Linked DNA regions of Homo sapiens: regions 1 and 2 are each linked to region 3. Evidence: promoter capture Hi-C in human tissues and cell types (Jung and others, 2019). All regions are on one chromosome and are shown on one strand. The core of a region is centred on a gene start or on the middle of the fragment in contact, and the rest is flanking DNA. Distances in the headings are between cores, read along the strand shown. Region 1 holds the start of CD248 (CD248 molecule). Region 2 holds the start of AP5B1 (adaptor related protein complex 5 subunit beta 1). Region 3 overlaps GAL3ST3 (galactose-3-O-sulfotransferase 3).

The links. Contacts are between HindIII fragments. The study calls those that stand out against the background at their distance.
Region 1: the fragment with the promoter of CD248 here is called in contact with a fragment that was not itself captured in region 3 in 1 of the 25 tissues and cell types used here (dorsolateral prefrontal cortex).
Region 2: the fragment with the promoter of AP5B1 here is called in contact with a fragment that was not itself captured in region 3 in 2 of the 25 tissues and cell types used here (lymphoblastoid cells and spleen).

The regions. Positions count from the first base shown.
Region 1 is chr11:66,314,988-66,319,139 of GRCh38, forward strand. CD248 (CD248 molecule) reads right to left here and starts at 2,057. Exons shown (of 1, transcript NM_020404.3): 1 at 1-2,057. The coding sequence starts at 2,040. RefSeq lists enhancers at 806-1,502, 4,059-4,152 and a silencer at 1,986-2,255. The HindIII fragment of the contact is 8,045 bases long and covers 1-4,152 here.
Region 2 is chr11:65,779,338-65,783,519 of GRCh38, forward strand. It overlaps AP5B1 (adaptor related protein complex 5 subunit beta 1), which reads right to left and starts at 1,639. Exons shown (of 2, transcript NM_138368.5): 1 at 1,105-1,639; 2 at 1-1,005. The coding sequence starts at 1,254. RefSeq lists silencers at 713-982, 1,133-1,312, 1,353-2,092 and enhancers at 721-1,623, 2,353-3,010. The HindIII fragment of the contact is 21,769 bases long and covers 1-4,182 here.
Region 3 is chr11:66,041,679-66,045,527 of GRCh38, forward strand. GAL3ST3 (galactose-3-O-sulfotransferase 3) reads right to left here. Exons shown (of 3, transcript NM_033036.3): 2 at 3,613-3,849; 3 at 1-1,999. The coding sequence starts at 3,737. The coding sequence ends at 829. Among named protein-coding and RNA genes, the nearest start is that of GAL3ST3, 5.6 kb to the right of the region's middle. RefSeq lists a silencer at 3,605-3,654 and an enhancer at 3,765-3,849. The HindIII fragment of the contact is 5,576 bases long and covers 1-3,849 here.

The DNA.
Region 1 (4,152 bases), core at 807-3,306, 270 kb after region 3:
GCTGTGCTCGGCAAGACCAGCCTCCCCCAGGGCTGTTGGGGCTGCTGTGGGAGCTGGTGAGGGCAGCCACAGGGCCAACTTGGGACTGGGGCCATCTTCCCTTGGGATTTGGGGGGCTTTGGAATGGGGATGTGTAGGGCTGATGGGTGAGGTCTGGTTAGTGGGGCTCTGAGAGGGCAGGAGGGTGGGGAGGGCTGCGGGCTGGGTGGCAGCAGGCACAGAGATTTGATGGGCAGGAGACACAGGGGACCTGGAGGTGGTGGTCAGAGAGGGCTGGGCAGTTGGGATAATGGGAAGCTGGGTGGCCTGGGTTCTGAGGACAAGGGCATCTGGGGCTTGAGGGGGTAGCTGGGCACCGAGGGTGGTGACCAGAGGGGCATGGTTAGGTGGGATTCCAGGCAAATGAGTGGTGGTCTGGGTGCCAGCGACCCGGGTGTCTGGAAACATGGGGGACTGGTGGGCAGGGAAGAGCTCCGGATATTTGGTTGAGATCATAGGGGGCTGGTGGGCAGGAGGCTGTGCTGAATGAGAGACAGAGAGAATACCGGGTTGGTAGGCAGAAGGCAGATCTGGATAGTTGGCTGCGATCACGGGGATCTGGTGGTCACGGGACAAAGCTGGGTGTGTGGCAGGGATCACAGGAGGCTGGTGGGCAGAAGGCAGTGTGGGATGCGTGGCAGAGACCACCACAGGCCGGGTGACGGAGAGCACTGAGGAGTGGTAGGGGACCCTGGGGGCACTGAGCGGGGGTGGCCAGGTGGGCTCCGGGTAGGGTATCTGTGGCTCTCTGTCCTCTGGGAAGCTCGGTCTATAGGCCAGGGCAAAGTCAGGCGGCTGCGTAGGCTCCATCCACAGGATCCCAGGCATCTCCGTCCAGCCACCGTTGAAGGCCTTCCAGGCCTCGTCTTCATCTTCCTCATCCTCCCCGTCATCCAGCAACTCATCTCCGAGGTCCTGGGAAGCCTGGGCACCCATGGCCCCTGCAGGGCTGCAGCTGATGCCATCAGCCTCCAGCTCATGTCCCTCGCTACAATAACACTCGAAGCCACCAACGTAGTTGACACACATCTGCTGGCACACACCGGCAATCTGGCACTCATCTGTGTCCACACAGCGGTGCGGATCATCCTCCGCTGGCCGGAAACCCAGGCGACAGTGGCAGCTGTAGCCTTGTGGCCCACCGGGCTCACACTGCTGCTCGCACGGAGCCTGGGCACAGGGGTCCTCGCAACTGCGCCCGTCTGCTGCCAGCCGGAAGCCCTCAGTGCAGCGGCAGGACACGTGACCATCCACCTCCTCCACACATTCGTGTTCGCAGCCCCCGTTGTCAGGGCTGCAGCCAGTCCCCAGGCACAGGGGCCCAGCCCGTGACCAGCCCACACCTCCCTCAGGCTGCTTCACGCAGAGCAGAGAGGCTCCCCTGCCAGCCTGGCACTGCACAGCGGCCACAGAGCCGAAGGGCAGCCACTCAAACTCTGTGGAGACCAGGTGGAAGGGCGTGGTATACACGGCTGGGCCGGCCTGGCCCGCCTCATCTTGCAGCGCCGGGCAGGCGCCCTCGAAGCCAAACTGGCACAGGTAGCCGTCGACAGCCAGCGTGCACGAGCCCTCCAGCCAGCGGTGCTCGCCACTTGCCTCCAGGGCCACACAGCGCTGGGCCGGGCAGGGGCCTCCAGAGGCTGGCTGGGCCCAGTTGGTGAAAGCCGTGTCCTGGTCCCCTGTGGTCCACGTGAAGCCGCGCAGTGGGCGCTGCAGCTGGCATTGCCGGGCCTGCCGCTGCAGCCCGATCCACAGCAGCCGGCTGGCTGGGCCCGCACCCACCAGGCTGTCCACACGCTGGGCCTCCTCGGGGGTCCGAGGAGTGGCCAGGTCGCCCCCCAGCTCGCGGCAGGCCCGCCAGGCCTCCAGGAAGGTGCGGCGCCGTGGGAAGAGAGCGTAGCAGCTGCTGGGGCCGCAGGCGGCACGGGGCTCAGCAGCCCAGGGGTCCTGGCCCAGTGTGGGCCCTGCGGCCGCCCAGGCCAGCAACAGGCGCAGCAGCATCGCGATGCCCCCGGACTGGTCCGGCCCCGGGCTGGCGGCAGCTCTTGACAGGGGGAGGGCCTGGGGCCTCCTGCGGGCGGGCCGGGGGCGGGCCTGGGGCCGGGCTCAGGCCTTGTAAGGAGTGGGCTGGGGCGGCTGCCAGCTCCCTGCTCCCTCTTCCCCGGGGGCCGCTAGAGCAGGAAGCAGTGGGGTGGGGGGCTCTAAGGTTGGGGGCGGAGGAGGGGAGAAGGCGCAGTTGACGGCTGCCCCAGGCCCCATGGGGCTGAGAGTCAGGGGGTGGGAAAAGCCTGCCTGCCGAGCTCTGTGACCCTCAAGTTGGGGCTCGGGGCTGTGGGGTGAGGTCGCTTCCCAGAGACTCAGAGACCCAAATCTGGACACAGCAGCCCCATCACACCCGGGAGCAGTCTCAGCCCAGCTGCTCGCCATGCACGGGAACACCCTCATGCCCACTCCTTTCTTGCCCCACAGACGCGCGCATGCGCCTCCCCCACCCCCAACCCCATGCAAGAGTGCACTCTCTGCCAAGCTGTTTGTCCCTTCACCTCACCGTGGACCTATGCTGGCTTGCAGATGACTCCCTTGCCACACGTACACACATTCTGACATGCTGAGACCCTAGGTGCACATACAAAAATGGTGTGGCATTCTACATGGCCTGACATATGAAGACCTCCGATTCGGCCTGAATGGAAACAGCTTGGTCACCCAGGCACAGGCATCCTCAGCCTCTCATTTATTTACTGAGCCCCTGCGTCAGCCTCTCCCCCTATACTCAAGCTTTCTGGTTCCAGCTGGGCCAGCGTGTGGGGGTGTTGGGGGAGTGAGGGGGCCAGGGGCTGCCCTCCCCTCACCCCAGCTCAGCCTGGGGCCCTGGGAACCTGGGCTTAGAGGGGGAGGAGGCAGCCCCTAAACAGGAAATGCCTCTCTGGGCTCCTGCGTCAGGAAGGCAGGGTGCGTGGTTTAGGGGGCTGGGTGGGGGCTGGGCTGCACGCAGGATGTGGAAGGCTGTGAGGGGACCCATGCAAGGCCATGTATGGGCATGGGGCACACAGTGACATATATGTGTATATGTGACACAGGCATCACGTGTGTGGAGCCCTCCCTGCCCCCGGGGCCTGCTGTTTCGGCCTGGCCAGGGTCCTCTTCCCGCCCTTCCTGGAGGCCTCTGGAGGCATGTGCACTGAGCCCATCATCCAGGATGGCCTCTGGGGAGCTGGCTGGCGGATTAACCCATGCACACCCGCTGCACTCTTAGCAGAAGTTAGAAACAGTGTGGGGAGGTGGGGGAGAGGTTCCGCCCTTCAGTAAACTGCCCTGATGCAGCTTCCCCCTCTGCCACAGATGGATCGACTTTGTGACTGCAGGGGAGTCACTGGCCCTCTCTGGGTCTCCTTTTTTCTCAGTTGCAACATGAGGGCAATGAGTCCAGGATTTTTAGCTCAGCAGGGCTGAGATATTGCGTCACAGCGCTCAGTGTTTGCAAATGTGCTTTGTCAGCTGTGGAGCCTGAAGCAAATGTTCCTGTCTTCTGAGCATATGTGGTGGGTGGAGACCAGGGTGCGTTTTTGCAAACCACCTTACAGTGCCTAGGCTGGCCCTGCAGACCCAGCCAGCCCCTCGAGAACCAGGGCTTAGGAAGTTCTTGCCATATGCCTGGAAGTTCCTTCTTACAAGGTCTATACATGTGAAGCACACAGAATGACTCCCCTTCTCAGGAGACAAAAGTCAAGATGGAGGAGTTCATCCTTCTGTTGGCTCAGGCCCCAAACCTTGAGGTCATGCTTGACTCCTCTCTTTCTCCCACAGCCCACATCCAGTCTCTCAGCAAATCCTGTTGGCTTCACTTTCAAAAGAGATCCAGAATCTGACCACTCCTGGACACCTTCTTTGCCACCCACCCCCGGCCCAGGTGGCTAGCAACGCCAATCTAGATTTCCCCAACAGCCTCTCCCGTGGTGTCTCTCTTGCCCTCTCCATCCTGCCAGAGGGATCCTTTCAAAATCCAAGTCAGATCTGATCACTTCTCCATTCAGAACCCTCTGAGCCCCCCATCTCGCTTAGAGGAAGGGCCACAGTCCTTGCCATGGCCTCCTGGTCTATGTCATCTGCCTC
Region 2 (4,182 bases), core at 389-2,888, 260 kb before region 3:
ACCTTCAGGGCCCAGCGGCCAGTTCTCAGGGAAGCTCAGGACGCAGTGAAGGTAAAAGAGATGGGTGGGCGGAGGCAGAGCAGGGTGCTGGGCAGCCAAGGTGAGCCGGCGGAGCAGCAACGCTTCATCCTGGGCTGTGAACAAGGCCTCACCAAAGGCCGCCTTGAGCGCAAGCATGGCGTGCAACAGTGTCAGCTGTGCTGTGCCTAGCAGCCGTACCAGCTGCGGCTTGAAGAGTGCCGGTGGCTGTCCCTGCAGACCCCGCAGGGCCCAGCCCAGCAGCCACAGGAGCTGGGCCTGGGCCACAGGAGTGAGCAGATAGGAGGTGTCCAGAAGCTGGATCACCGCAGCCCGCAGCTCCCGCGCCTCCTCAGGGCTGTGCTCTCGTGCTGTAAGGCTACGCTCCCCCTCTCCCTCCTCAGCTGCCGGCCAGCTGGGTGCCTGGGGCTGAAGGCGTCCATCGCCCTCCTCCACTAGTGTCCAATCCCAGGGACCACCCCCAGTTGGGGAGACCTTATCCGTGAGCAGTCCCCCCAGGCCAGCCCCAACCCGGGACTGGAGCACCAAGGTGTTGCGCAAAGCGAGGGCCAGCAACAGGCTGAGTGGCTGGACAGGGCCTTCCTGCCCCAGCAGGCCCCGCAGCAACCCCAGGGAGCCCCCCAGCAGCCCGGGCTTGCAGCTCTCTAGCTCTCGCAGGCACTCGCAGGCCGTGGCCTGCAAGGGGCGCTGTTCCGAGGCGGGGACAAAGCCTCGCCCCAGATCGCTACCCGCGGCCAGGCCGAGCAGTAGGGGCAGGAGCCGGCAGGAGGCGCCCGAGGTGGGGCCCAGCGCGCCGCCCGCCGCCAGGGCAGTGGTGGCCGCCAGCAGCAGTGGCCGACGGAGAGCTGAGGGCCGCGGGGGTAGGAGGACCAAGGTGTCCAACAGGGAGGTGGCGGCCACTTCGGCCGCAGAGGCGTCGGGCCACAGCTGCGCAGGGTACTCCATGCTCAGGGCCAGCAGGGAAACCTGGATGGGGGATTAGGAGGGAATCACGAAGATGAGGTTCATGACGCGGCGGGCTGGGGTGACCCTGCGGAACGGCGCAGGGGACGCGTGGGGGCCTACCTTGGTCTGTTCGCTCAGCTTCTCACTTCTCAGGTCGCTCAGCAGGTCGCGACCCAAATCCTCCCCCTCGGGACCTGCCATGAAGGCAGACGGGCTGGCCCGGAAGGCCCCCAAGCGCTGGGCCCAGGCGTCCCGGCTCAGGGGCCCCATGGTGAGGCGCGCGGGCCCCTGCGCAGGGAAGAGGGACCCTCAGGCCGCAGCCACCGGGAGCGCGGGGCCCGCTGCCGACCCCGAGGGGCTGCGGTCACCCCCAGACGCCGCGCAGATGCCGGCGGGACCCGCGCCCGGCTCCCACGGTGAGACCAGGGCTCTCGGGGCCGACGCCAGAGCTGGGCGCCGGGGCCCTCGCGGGACAGGACAGGAGCAGGGCGGGGGAGGGTGCGTGCCGAGAGCTCGTTAGGCCGCCTCCCTCCCGCCCGCGGCCCGCACCGAAACCACAGCGCCACCCCGGCCCCCGGCGCCGGCGGTAACGGGCCGCGCTCGCCGCCTGACTCAGCCGCCGCGGGCACTCAGGCCGGCCGGCTCCTTCCGGGCTGGCGGCGCGGGGCGGGGCGCGGCGCGGGGGCGGCCGAGTCCGGGCGGGGAGGGGCGGGGCGTAACGGGGCCACCGCCTCCCGCAGGTGTCGACTCGCAGGTTTCGCGGGGGCTGACTAACTGTCCCGCCGCGCAGGCCCCCTTCCCCGAAACCGCCGCAGGCCGGGGCAGGAAAGGCGGAGGGGAGTGGGTAGGGGTGGCGGAGCGGGGTGGGCCTGGGCCCCAGATGCCGGGTACCGCGGCGCAGGGCTGCGATCCCGCGGCCCTCGGCGGACAGCGGCCCGGTCCCACCAGCGCCCGCCAAGCCGCGCAGGGCGGCAGCCAGCGCGCCCCCCGCCGGCGCCCGGGCACACCGCACCCTGCGCCAGACGCGCGGCCCCGGGGGGCGTGGGTGCGGGTCCTGGGGCTCCCGGAGTGGCCCCTGGGGGTGACCAAGGTGCGGTCGCAGGGCGCCCGCAGGAAAAGCGCCCCAGCTGAACCGGTCCGGCGGGCGCCGCAGGGCTTGGCTTCGCTTCCCTGACGCCTGCCCGGGCCCCCAGCCCGCTCGGCTTGGGGGCGAGGAGCCGGCGCCGCGGTTGCGGCCAGCCAGGAGCTTCTGACCTTTGTTTGCCCGAGGCCGCGCTGGCGGCCCGCAGGGGTCGTGACGGCGAGGGCGGGGCAGGGCCCTAAGTCGAAAACAACGGGATCCATACTCGGGAAGTGCGGGCTGTCAGGGCCTGGCCGGTCACGGGGCTCGAGGCATGCCTAGCGATGGGGAAAACAGGCCCAGGAGGAGGGCGGCCTTGCCAACCGAGATCTGGGGCCAAGCCGGGCCGGAACCCAGCACTCCAGACTTCAGTGGGCTGGATTCTGGCTGTTTGGGGGCATTCGGGGGTCTGGGCGGCGGTCTCTCCCAGGCCAGAGGCCCAGGTTGCAGGTGCCCCACAGACCACCGGTTTCCAGGGCACAGAACCGCCGGCGCCCAAACCTCACCACCCCTCTGGCTCCAATTAGCCGCTTTGAAGATGAAACAGGCCTGAGCCCCCATGCAAGCCAGTGCCAGCTGGCCTCTCCCTACCCCATCCTGCTCCAGATGGGAGGTGGTGGAGAGTTGAGGGGTGGAGAGTGCCAAAAAGGAGGCTGTCTGGGTGCCCTTGGGGATGGAGAGATAGAGACCCACTCGGAGGGACAGGTCCAGCCAGAAGGCCCGGTCCCGGCTCCTCTAGGCCCTGGCTCCACAGTTGACTCACAGGCAGCAGCCCCAAACTACTTCCCTCTAGGTGCCTCAGTTTCCCCATCTATAAAATGGGAGTGATAACTCCCACCCAAGAGGCTGTGGGGTGAGGCAGCCTGGCTAATTAAACCCAAGATGAAAGAGGCAGGATGAGAGCAGCCCTGGGGAGGGGAGGCAGCCTGCAGTAGGAGCCAGTCTGGTTTCTCTGTCTGAGCCCAGAGGGTGCTGGTAACTGCACATCCCCGGCCCTCACCACCCTCACGGTGAGGCAGGAATGATCATTAAACTTCTTGCAGAGTTGAGAAGACAGGTTTCCAAGGATCAGGGGGCCTGACACTGGCTCTGGCCCCGGCTCAGCCTCTGACAGCGTGGCCTCTGCACACCTCCTGCCTGAGTCTTGACTCCTTGAGGCTGAGGGTCTGGAGGGAGGGAACCCACTTGTGGTCTCCAATACTGCAGTGGACGAATCCGCATGGACTTACTGAGGCTCACAGCAACCCCAGGTACCGAGAGTGGGTATCAGATGAGGAAAGGGAAGCCCACAGAGGTACGGTCTCTCAGTCACAGAGCCCCTCAGAGGTGGAGCCTCGACTTCCACAAACAGCCCCTTGTTGCATCTGACCTGGTCCTCCCCCCACACCAGGTACCCTCGGCCCTCTTGGGTGTCCAGGTCCCTGGATGGGCCCTGTTCTCACCTGTCTGCTCCCCTATTGGCGGGTGGTGCTGGCTCTGTCCCTGGCAAGGCCAGGCATGGAGCTGAGCTCAGACTGTCACCGGACTCACCCGGGACAGCAACATCCCAGTCGAGGGCCCAGGTGTGGGCCACTGCCGGATGCTGAGCTGGGAATTCCCCACTCCACGCCCTCCCTCATTTCTTCTCCTGCTGAGTTTCTGTCCTCCCCATGCAGCCCAGTTGTGGGCAGACACTAAACACAAGGCTTGTAAAAGGGAAAGTCAGCTTCCCAAGGGGTCCTGAGCCTCAGTTTTCTCATCTGTAAAATCGGGCTACAACAAACACACTCTCGCAGCACTGGCTGCTGGGGATACAGGAAGGCTTAGGAAAGAACGAGTCAATAGGCAAAGCCATGGAGATAGAGCAGATAGTGGGTGCTGGGCCAGGGGGAAGGGAGACACAGTGACAGCTAATGAGTACAGGGTTTTCTTTGGGGCCATGAAAATGTTCTGAGATTTAGTGATGATGGTTGTACAGCTCTGTGAGGTTACTAAAAACCAGTGAATTGTACATCTTACAAAAGGGTGAATTTGATGGTATATGAATTCTATCTAAATAAAGCTATTTAAAATGGTGTTTAAAAAGGGGTCCCACCCCA
Region 3 (3,849 bases), core at 801-3,300:
ACCTGTATCCCCAAGTTACAGAGATGATGCTCAGTAAATGTCGCAGAATTTTGTGAAAAAGAACGATGTGGAAAGTGAGTGGGGCTAAGGTGGCCAGTCTGTGTTGGGGGCCCAGTCGGTCAAGCGGTTGAGGAGGGTTGTAGGCCTATGCCAGGTGGCGGGGGACCTTGAGTCCAGGCCCCCATCCTCATGGGTCCAGCCACAGCTCCTCCTGGGCATCCGTTTCATCCTCAAATGTGGGGAATCCGGCTTCTATGACTGACATACAACTCGCACATTTTAAAGATGTTTTATTAAAAAAAAGAAAAACCAACCAAACAAAAATCCCAACCCAAGAACTCTTGGTTCTGGGAGACTGGGAGCAGCTTAGGTCTGTGGGGAGGGTAGAACCTGGAAGACAGAAAAGTATAGGGAGCCTCAAGCCCTGGGAGGGAGAGCAAGAGCAGCCTTTCCCTAGGGCTGAGCCTCTCTCCATGGGGCCTGGGCTTATCCACTTGGAAAAGACAGGTTGTGGGGGCTCAGCCCCCAGAAAAAGGCAGGGTGAGCAGTTCTGGACAGCCCTCAGGCCTCTTGTCAAAATCACCAACCAGCTGGGAAGGAGAGGGTGGCCCAGCGCTGGATCCAGCCTATCAGCGCCGTGCCCGAAGGCAAGGTTCAGCCCACGATCGGGAGCGGGGGCTCAGATAGGGAGGCGTACCCCAAAGTTCAGCGAGGGACTCAAGCCCCTTGAAAAGAAAGGGCTCTCATGGGGGCAGGACATGGAGGCAGCCCCTGGCTGGACTCCTGGGAGGGCAGGGCAGGACCCATACTCCTGGAGGCCTGCGGAGCTCAGGGACCTTGAGGGCCGCGAGGCAGCACTCGGATGGGCCGAGGCGGGGGATTGTCCAGGACGGGCTCGGGCCGAGCCCGCGCACCGCCCCGGCGCTTCTGCTTGCGCAACAGGTAGTTCGAGTACTGGACCTCGGGCATGGCCAGCTTGAGGCAGGCCTCGGTGGCCGGGCCGGCGCCGCCGCCGGGCAGGTCATAGCCCATAATGTCCACCTTGCGGCTGGGCTGCCACGGCTGCAGCTGCTTGGTGCGGATCTGCGCGGCAGGCCGCAGCAGTGGCTCGTCCCCGAAGCAGCGCCGCAGTAGGCGCTGGCGGGCCTCGCGCAGCTCGCGCGCCTCGCGCTCCACGCACGCGCGGCCCGCGCGCGCCACGTGGCGCCAGAAGGTGGCGTTGAAGTGGTCGTAGAGGCCGGCGTCCAGGGCGTTCCAGGTGCGCGCCGCCCGCGCCAGCGCCGCGGGGATGGCGGCCAGGCGCGAGCTGGCGGCGCGCGCGTTGAGCTTGGCGTAGAGCACGTCGTCCAGGTCCCAGGCCAGTAGGCGCCGCAGCAGCACTAGCGACTCGTCGAAGTACTCGGCGATCATGACGAGCGAGAAAACCTCCTCCACCTGGCGGATGAGGCCCGCCAGGTAGGCGGCGTCGTCGCGCGGGCTGCGCTCATTGTCGCCGCCCAGGTCGTAGGCCAGCGTGTTGTGTGCGAACATGGCGAAGTGCTCGCCAGCGCGGTAGTATGCCTCGGGCGCGCGCAGGAAGGCCTCGAGCGAGGCGTTGGGTACGCGCCGGAAGGCCGGGCAGTACTGGTTGTAGTAGCTGAAGAGCGACTCGAACATGGCGGCCGGCTCGCGCAGGATGGTGACATAGACGGTGCTGGGCGGCATGAGGCGCTCCAGCTCCGCACGGTCGAAGCGCAGGTGGCTGGCCAGCACGTGCGGCGGCCGCGTGGCCGGGTGCACGAAGTGCGCCGAGAAGTTGCGGGGGTAGCAGAACTGGTGCTCGCAGCTCGGGTGCGGCAGGGCCACCGTCAGGTTGTGGCGCTCGGCAAAGCGAAACAGGATGTTCTGCACCGTCGTGCCTGCCGTCTTGTGAGTCTTCAGGAAGGCCACAGTCATGTGCTTGGGGCGCGGCGGCGAGTTCCGCAGAGGAGGGCAGCTCAAGGGGAACAGCTTGGGGTACCTGCCAGGCCCAGGGAGTGTGCGGAGAGGAGGGTGTGAGGGGGCTGCCGCTTGACCCCTGCCCTTACCCAAGGACTGTGGGATGCCCCACAGCGCGGCCCCGCCTGGGCTGCACTCATGGAAAGGTCGAGGGCGGTGCTTGGTAGCCTCTAAGATGCCCTCTATGATCCCTGCTGCCCTCCTGGTATTCATGCCCTTGAGTATTCCCCTCACCTGAGTTAGGCTGGACTTATCATTGCATCTAAAGAAGAGAAGAGGGCAGAAATGATGGGATGTCACTTCTTAAATTTCATCATAGAAAGACTGTGGCTGGCTAGTATCTTGGTGTCTTTCACTCAATCTGGGATGACAGATGATGGGGGAAGCAAGCTGCCATATAGTGGGCAGCCCTATAGGGAGCTACCACTAAGTGGGAAAAGCCCACAAGGACCTAAGGCCCTCAGTCCACCAGCCGGCTTGAAGACCTGAAGCCTGTCAAAACCACGTGAGTGAGCTTGGAAGCTGATCCCTTCCAATCAAGCCTTCGGATGAGACTGCATCACCAGCAAACACCTTGGTTGCAACCCCATGAAAGACCTTGGTCCAGAAGTTCCCAGTAAGCCACACCTGGCTTCCTGACCCAAAATAACAGATGTTTGTGTTTTCAGCTGCTAAGCTTTAAGATAATTTGTTTATGTAGAAATAAATAAGGGACAAAGACCCCTGGAGATCTTTGAGGAATCCCACTTTGTATATGTAGAAACTGAGGGCCAAAAGGAGAACAATCACTTACACAAAGTCTGGAGACGACTCACATGGTCACTAAATCCTTTTGCTCTTTCTCATTTTTACTCTTTAACTGGCTCCTCACTTTGTAGATGGTTGGCACTGGGCTTTGCAGCAACCCATTGTTATGTTTCTCTTGAGGCTTCTAAAGCCTCATTAATTCAGTCATCAAATATTTTTTGGGTGTCCACTATGTGCCAGGTTAATGCTAGGTTCAAGAAATACAGTAATATACAAAAACAATCCTAGCCCTCGTGAAGCTTTCATTTCTGTTGCTTCATTCTTAAAACATGGGTGTTTGGGATTTCAAACCAAATTATCTGGCAAGGGGGGCTGGGCGCATTCACACCATTCTCAGGGGCAGACAGTGTAGAAAATGGGGACATGAAGTCTCCGAGAGGTGCAGGGATTTGTTGGGTTCACACAGTGAGTCAGGAGTAGGGTTGGGGTTCCCATGAATCACATGGTATCCTGTGTGAGGGTGACTGGCTGTGTCACACATATCATGTCTCACTTTATAGATGAGAAAACGGGGGCTCGGAGAAGTGAGGGGACTTGGCCTTGCCCAGCACTACGGAAGTTGTGAGAAGTTGTTTCCACTGGGGAAATGCTTAGCTGCATGCTGTGGGGAGTTGAGCTGGATTCGGATCTCAGCTAACTGATTCTGTAACTTTGAGCAAGTCACTCAGCCCTTTCATTGAAGAGCAGTCCCTGTCCAGGGAGGCTGTGTGGCCCTAAAGGGAAAGCACTTTCAGAATAGAGGGGAGGAGCAAAGCCTAGCAGGACCCTTCTAGCAGGTGGAAGAATGGGGAGGGGAGCTCCGGCCCCCCTGGGGCCCCGCCCCCTTACCAGCTGAGCTGCGCCCCCTGGTGGATGAGAAGGCTTACGGTGCTGCACCCTAGCACCAGCAGCAGGATTTTCCGGCGGCTCATCATCTTGGTGGCCTGCTGCAGGCGCTGGAGGATGGGTGGCATGGCGGAGTACCCACCCCTGGACCAGCCAGGGCCTCACTATCCAGGACTCCCTTCACAGGCACTCATGGGGGATCCTGCGGCTCTGGTAGCAGGGCCAGTGTTCCCGAGAAGC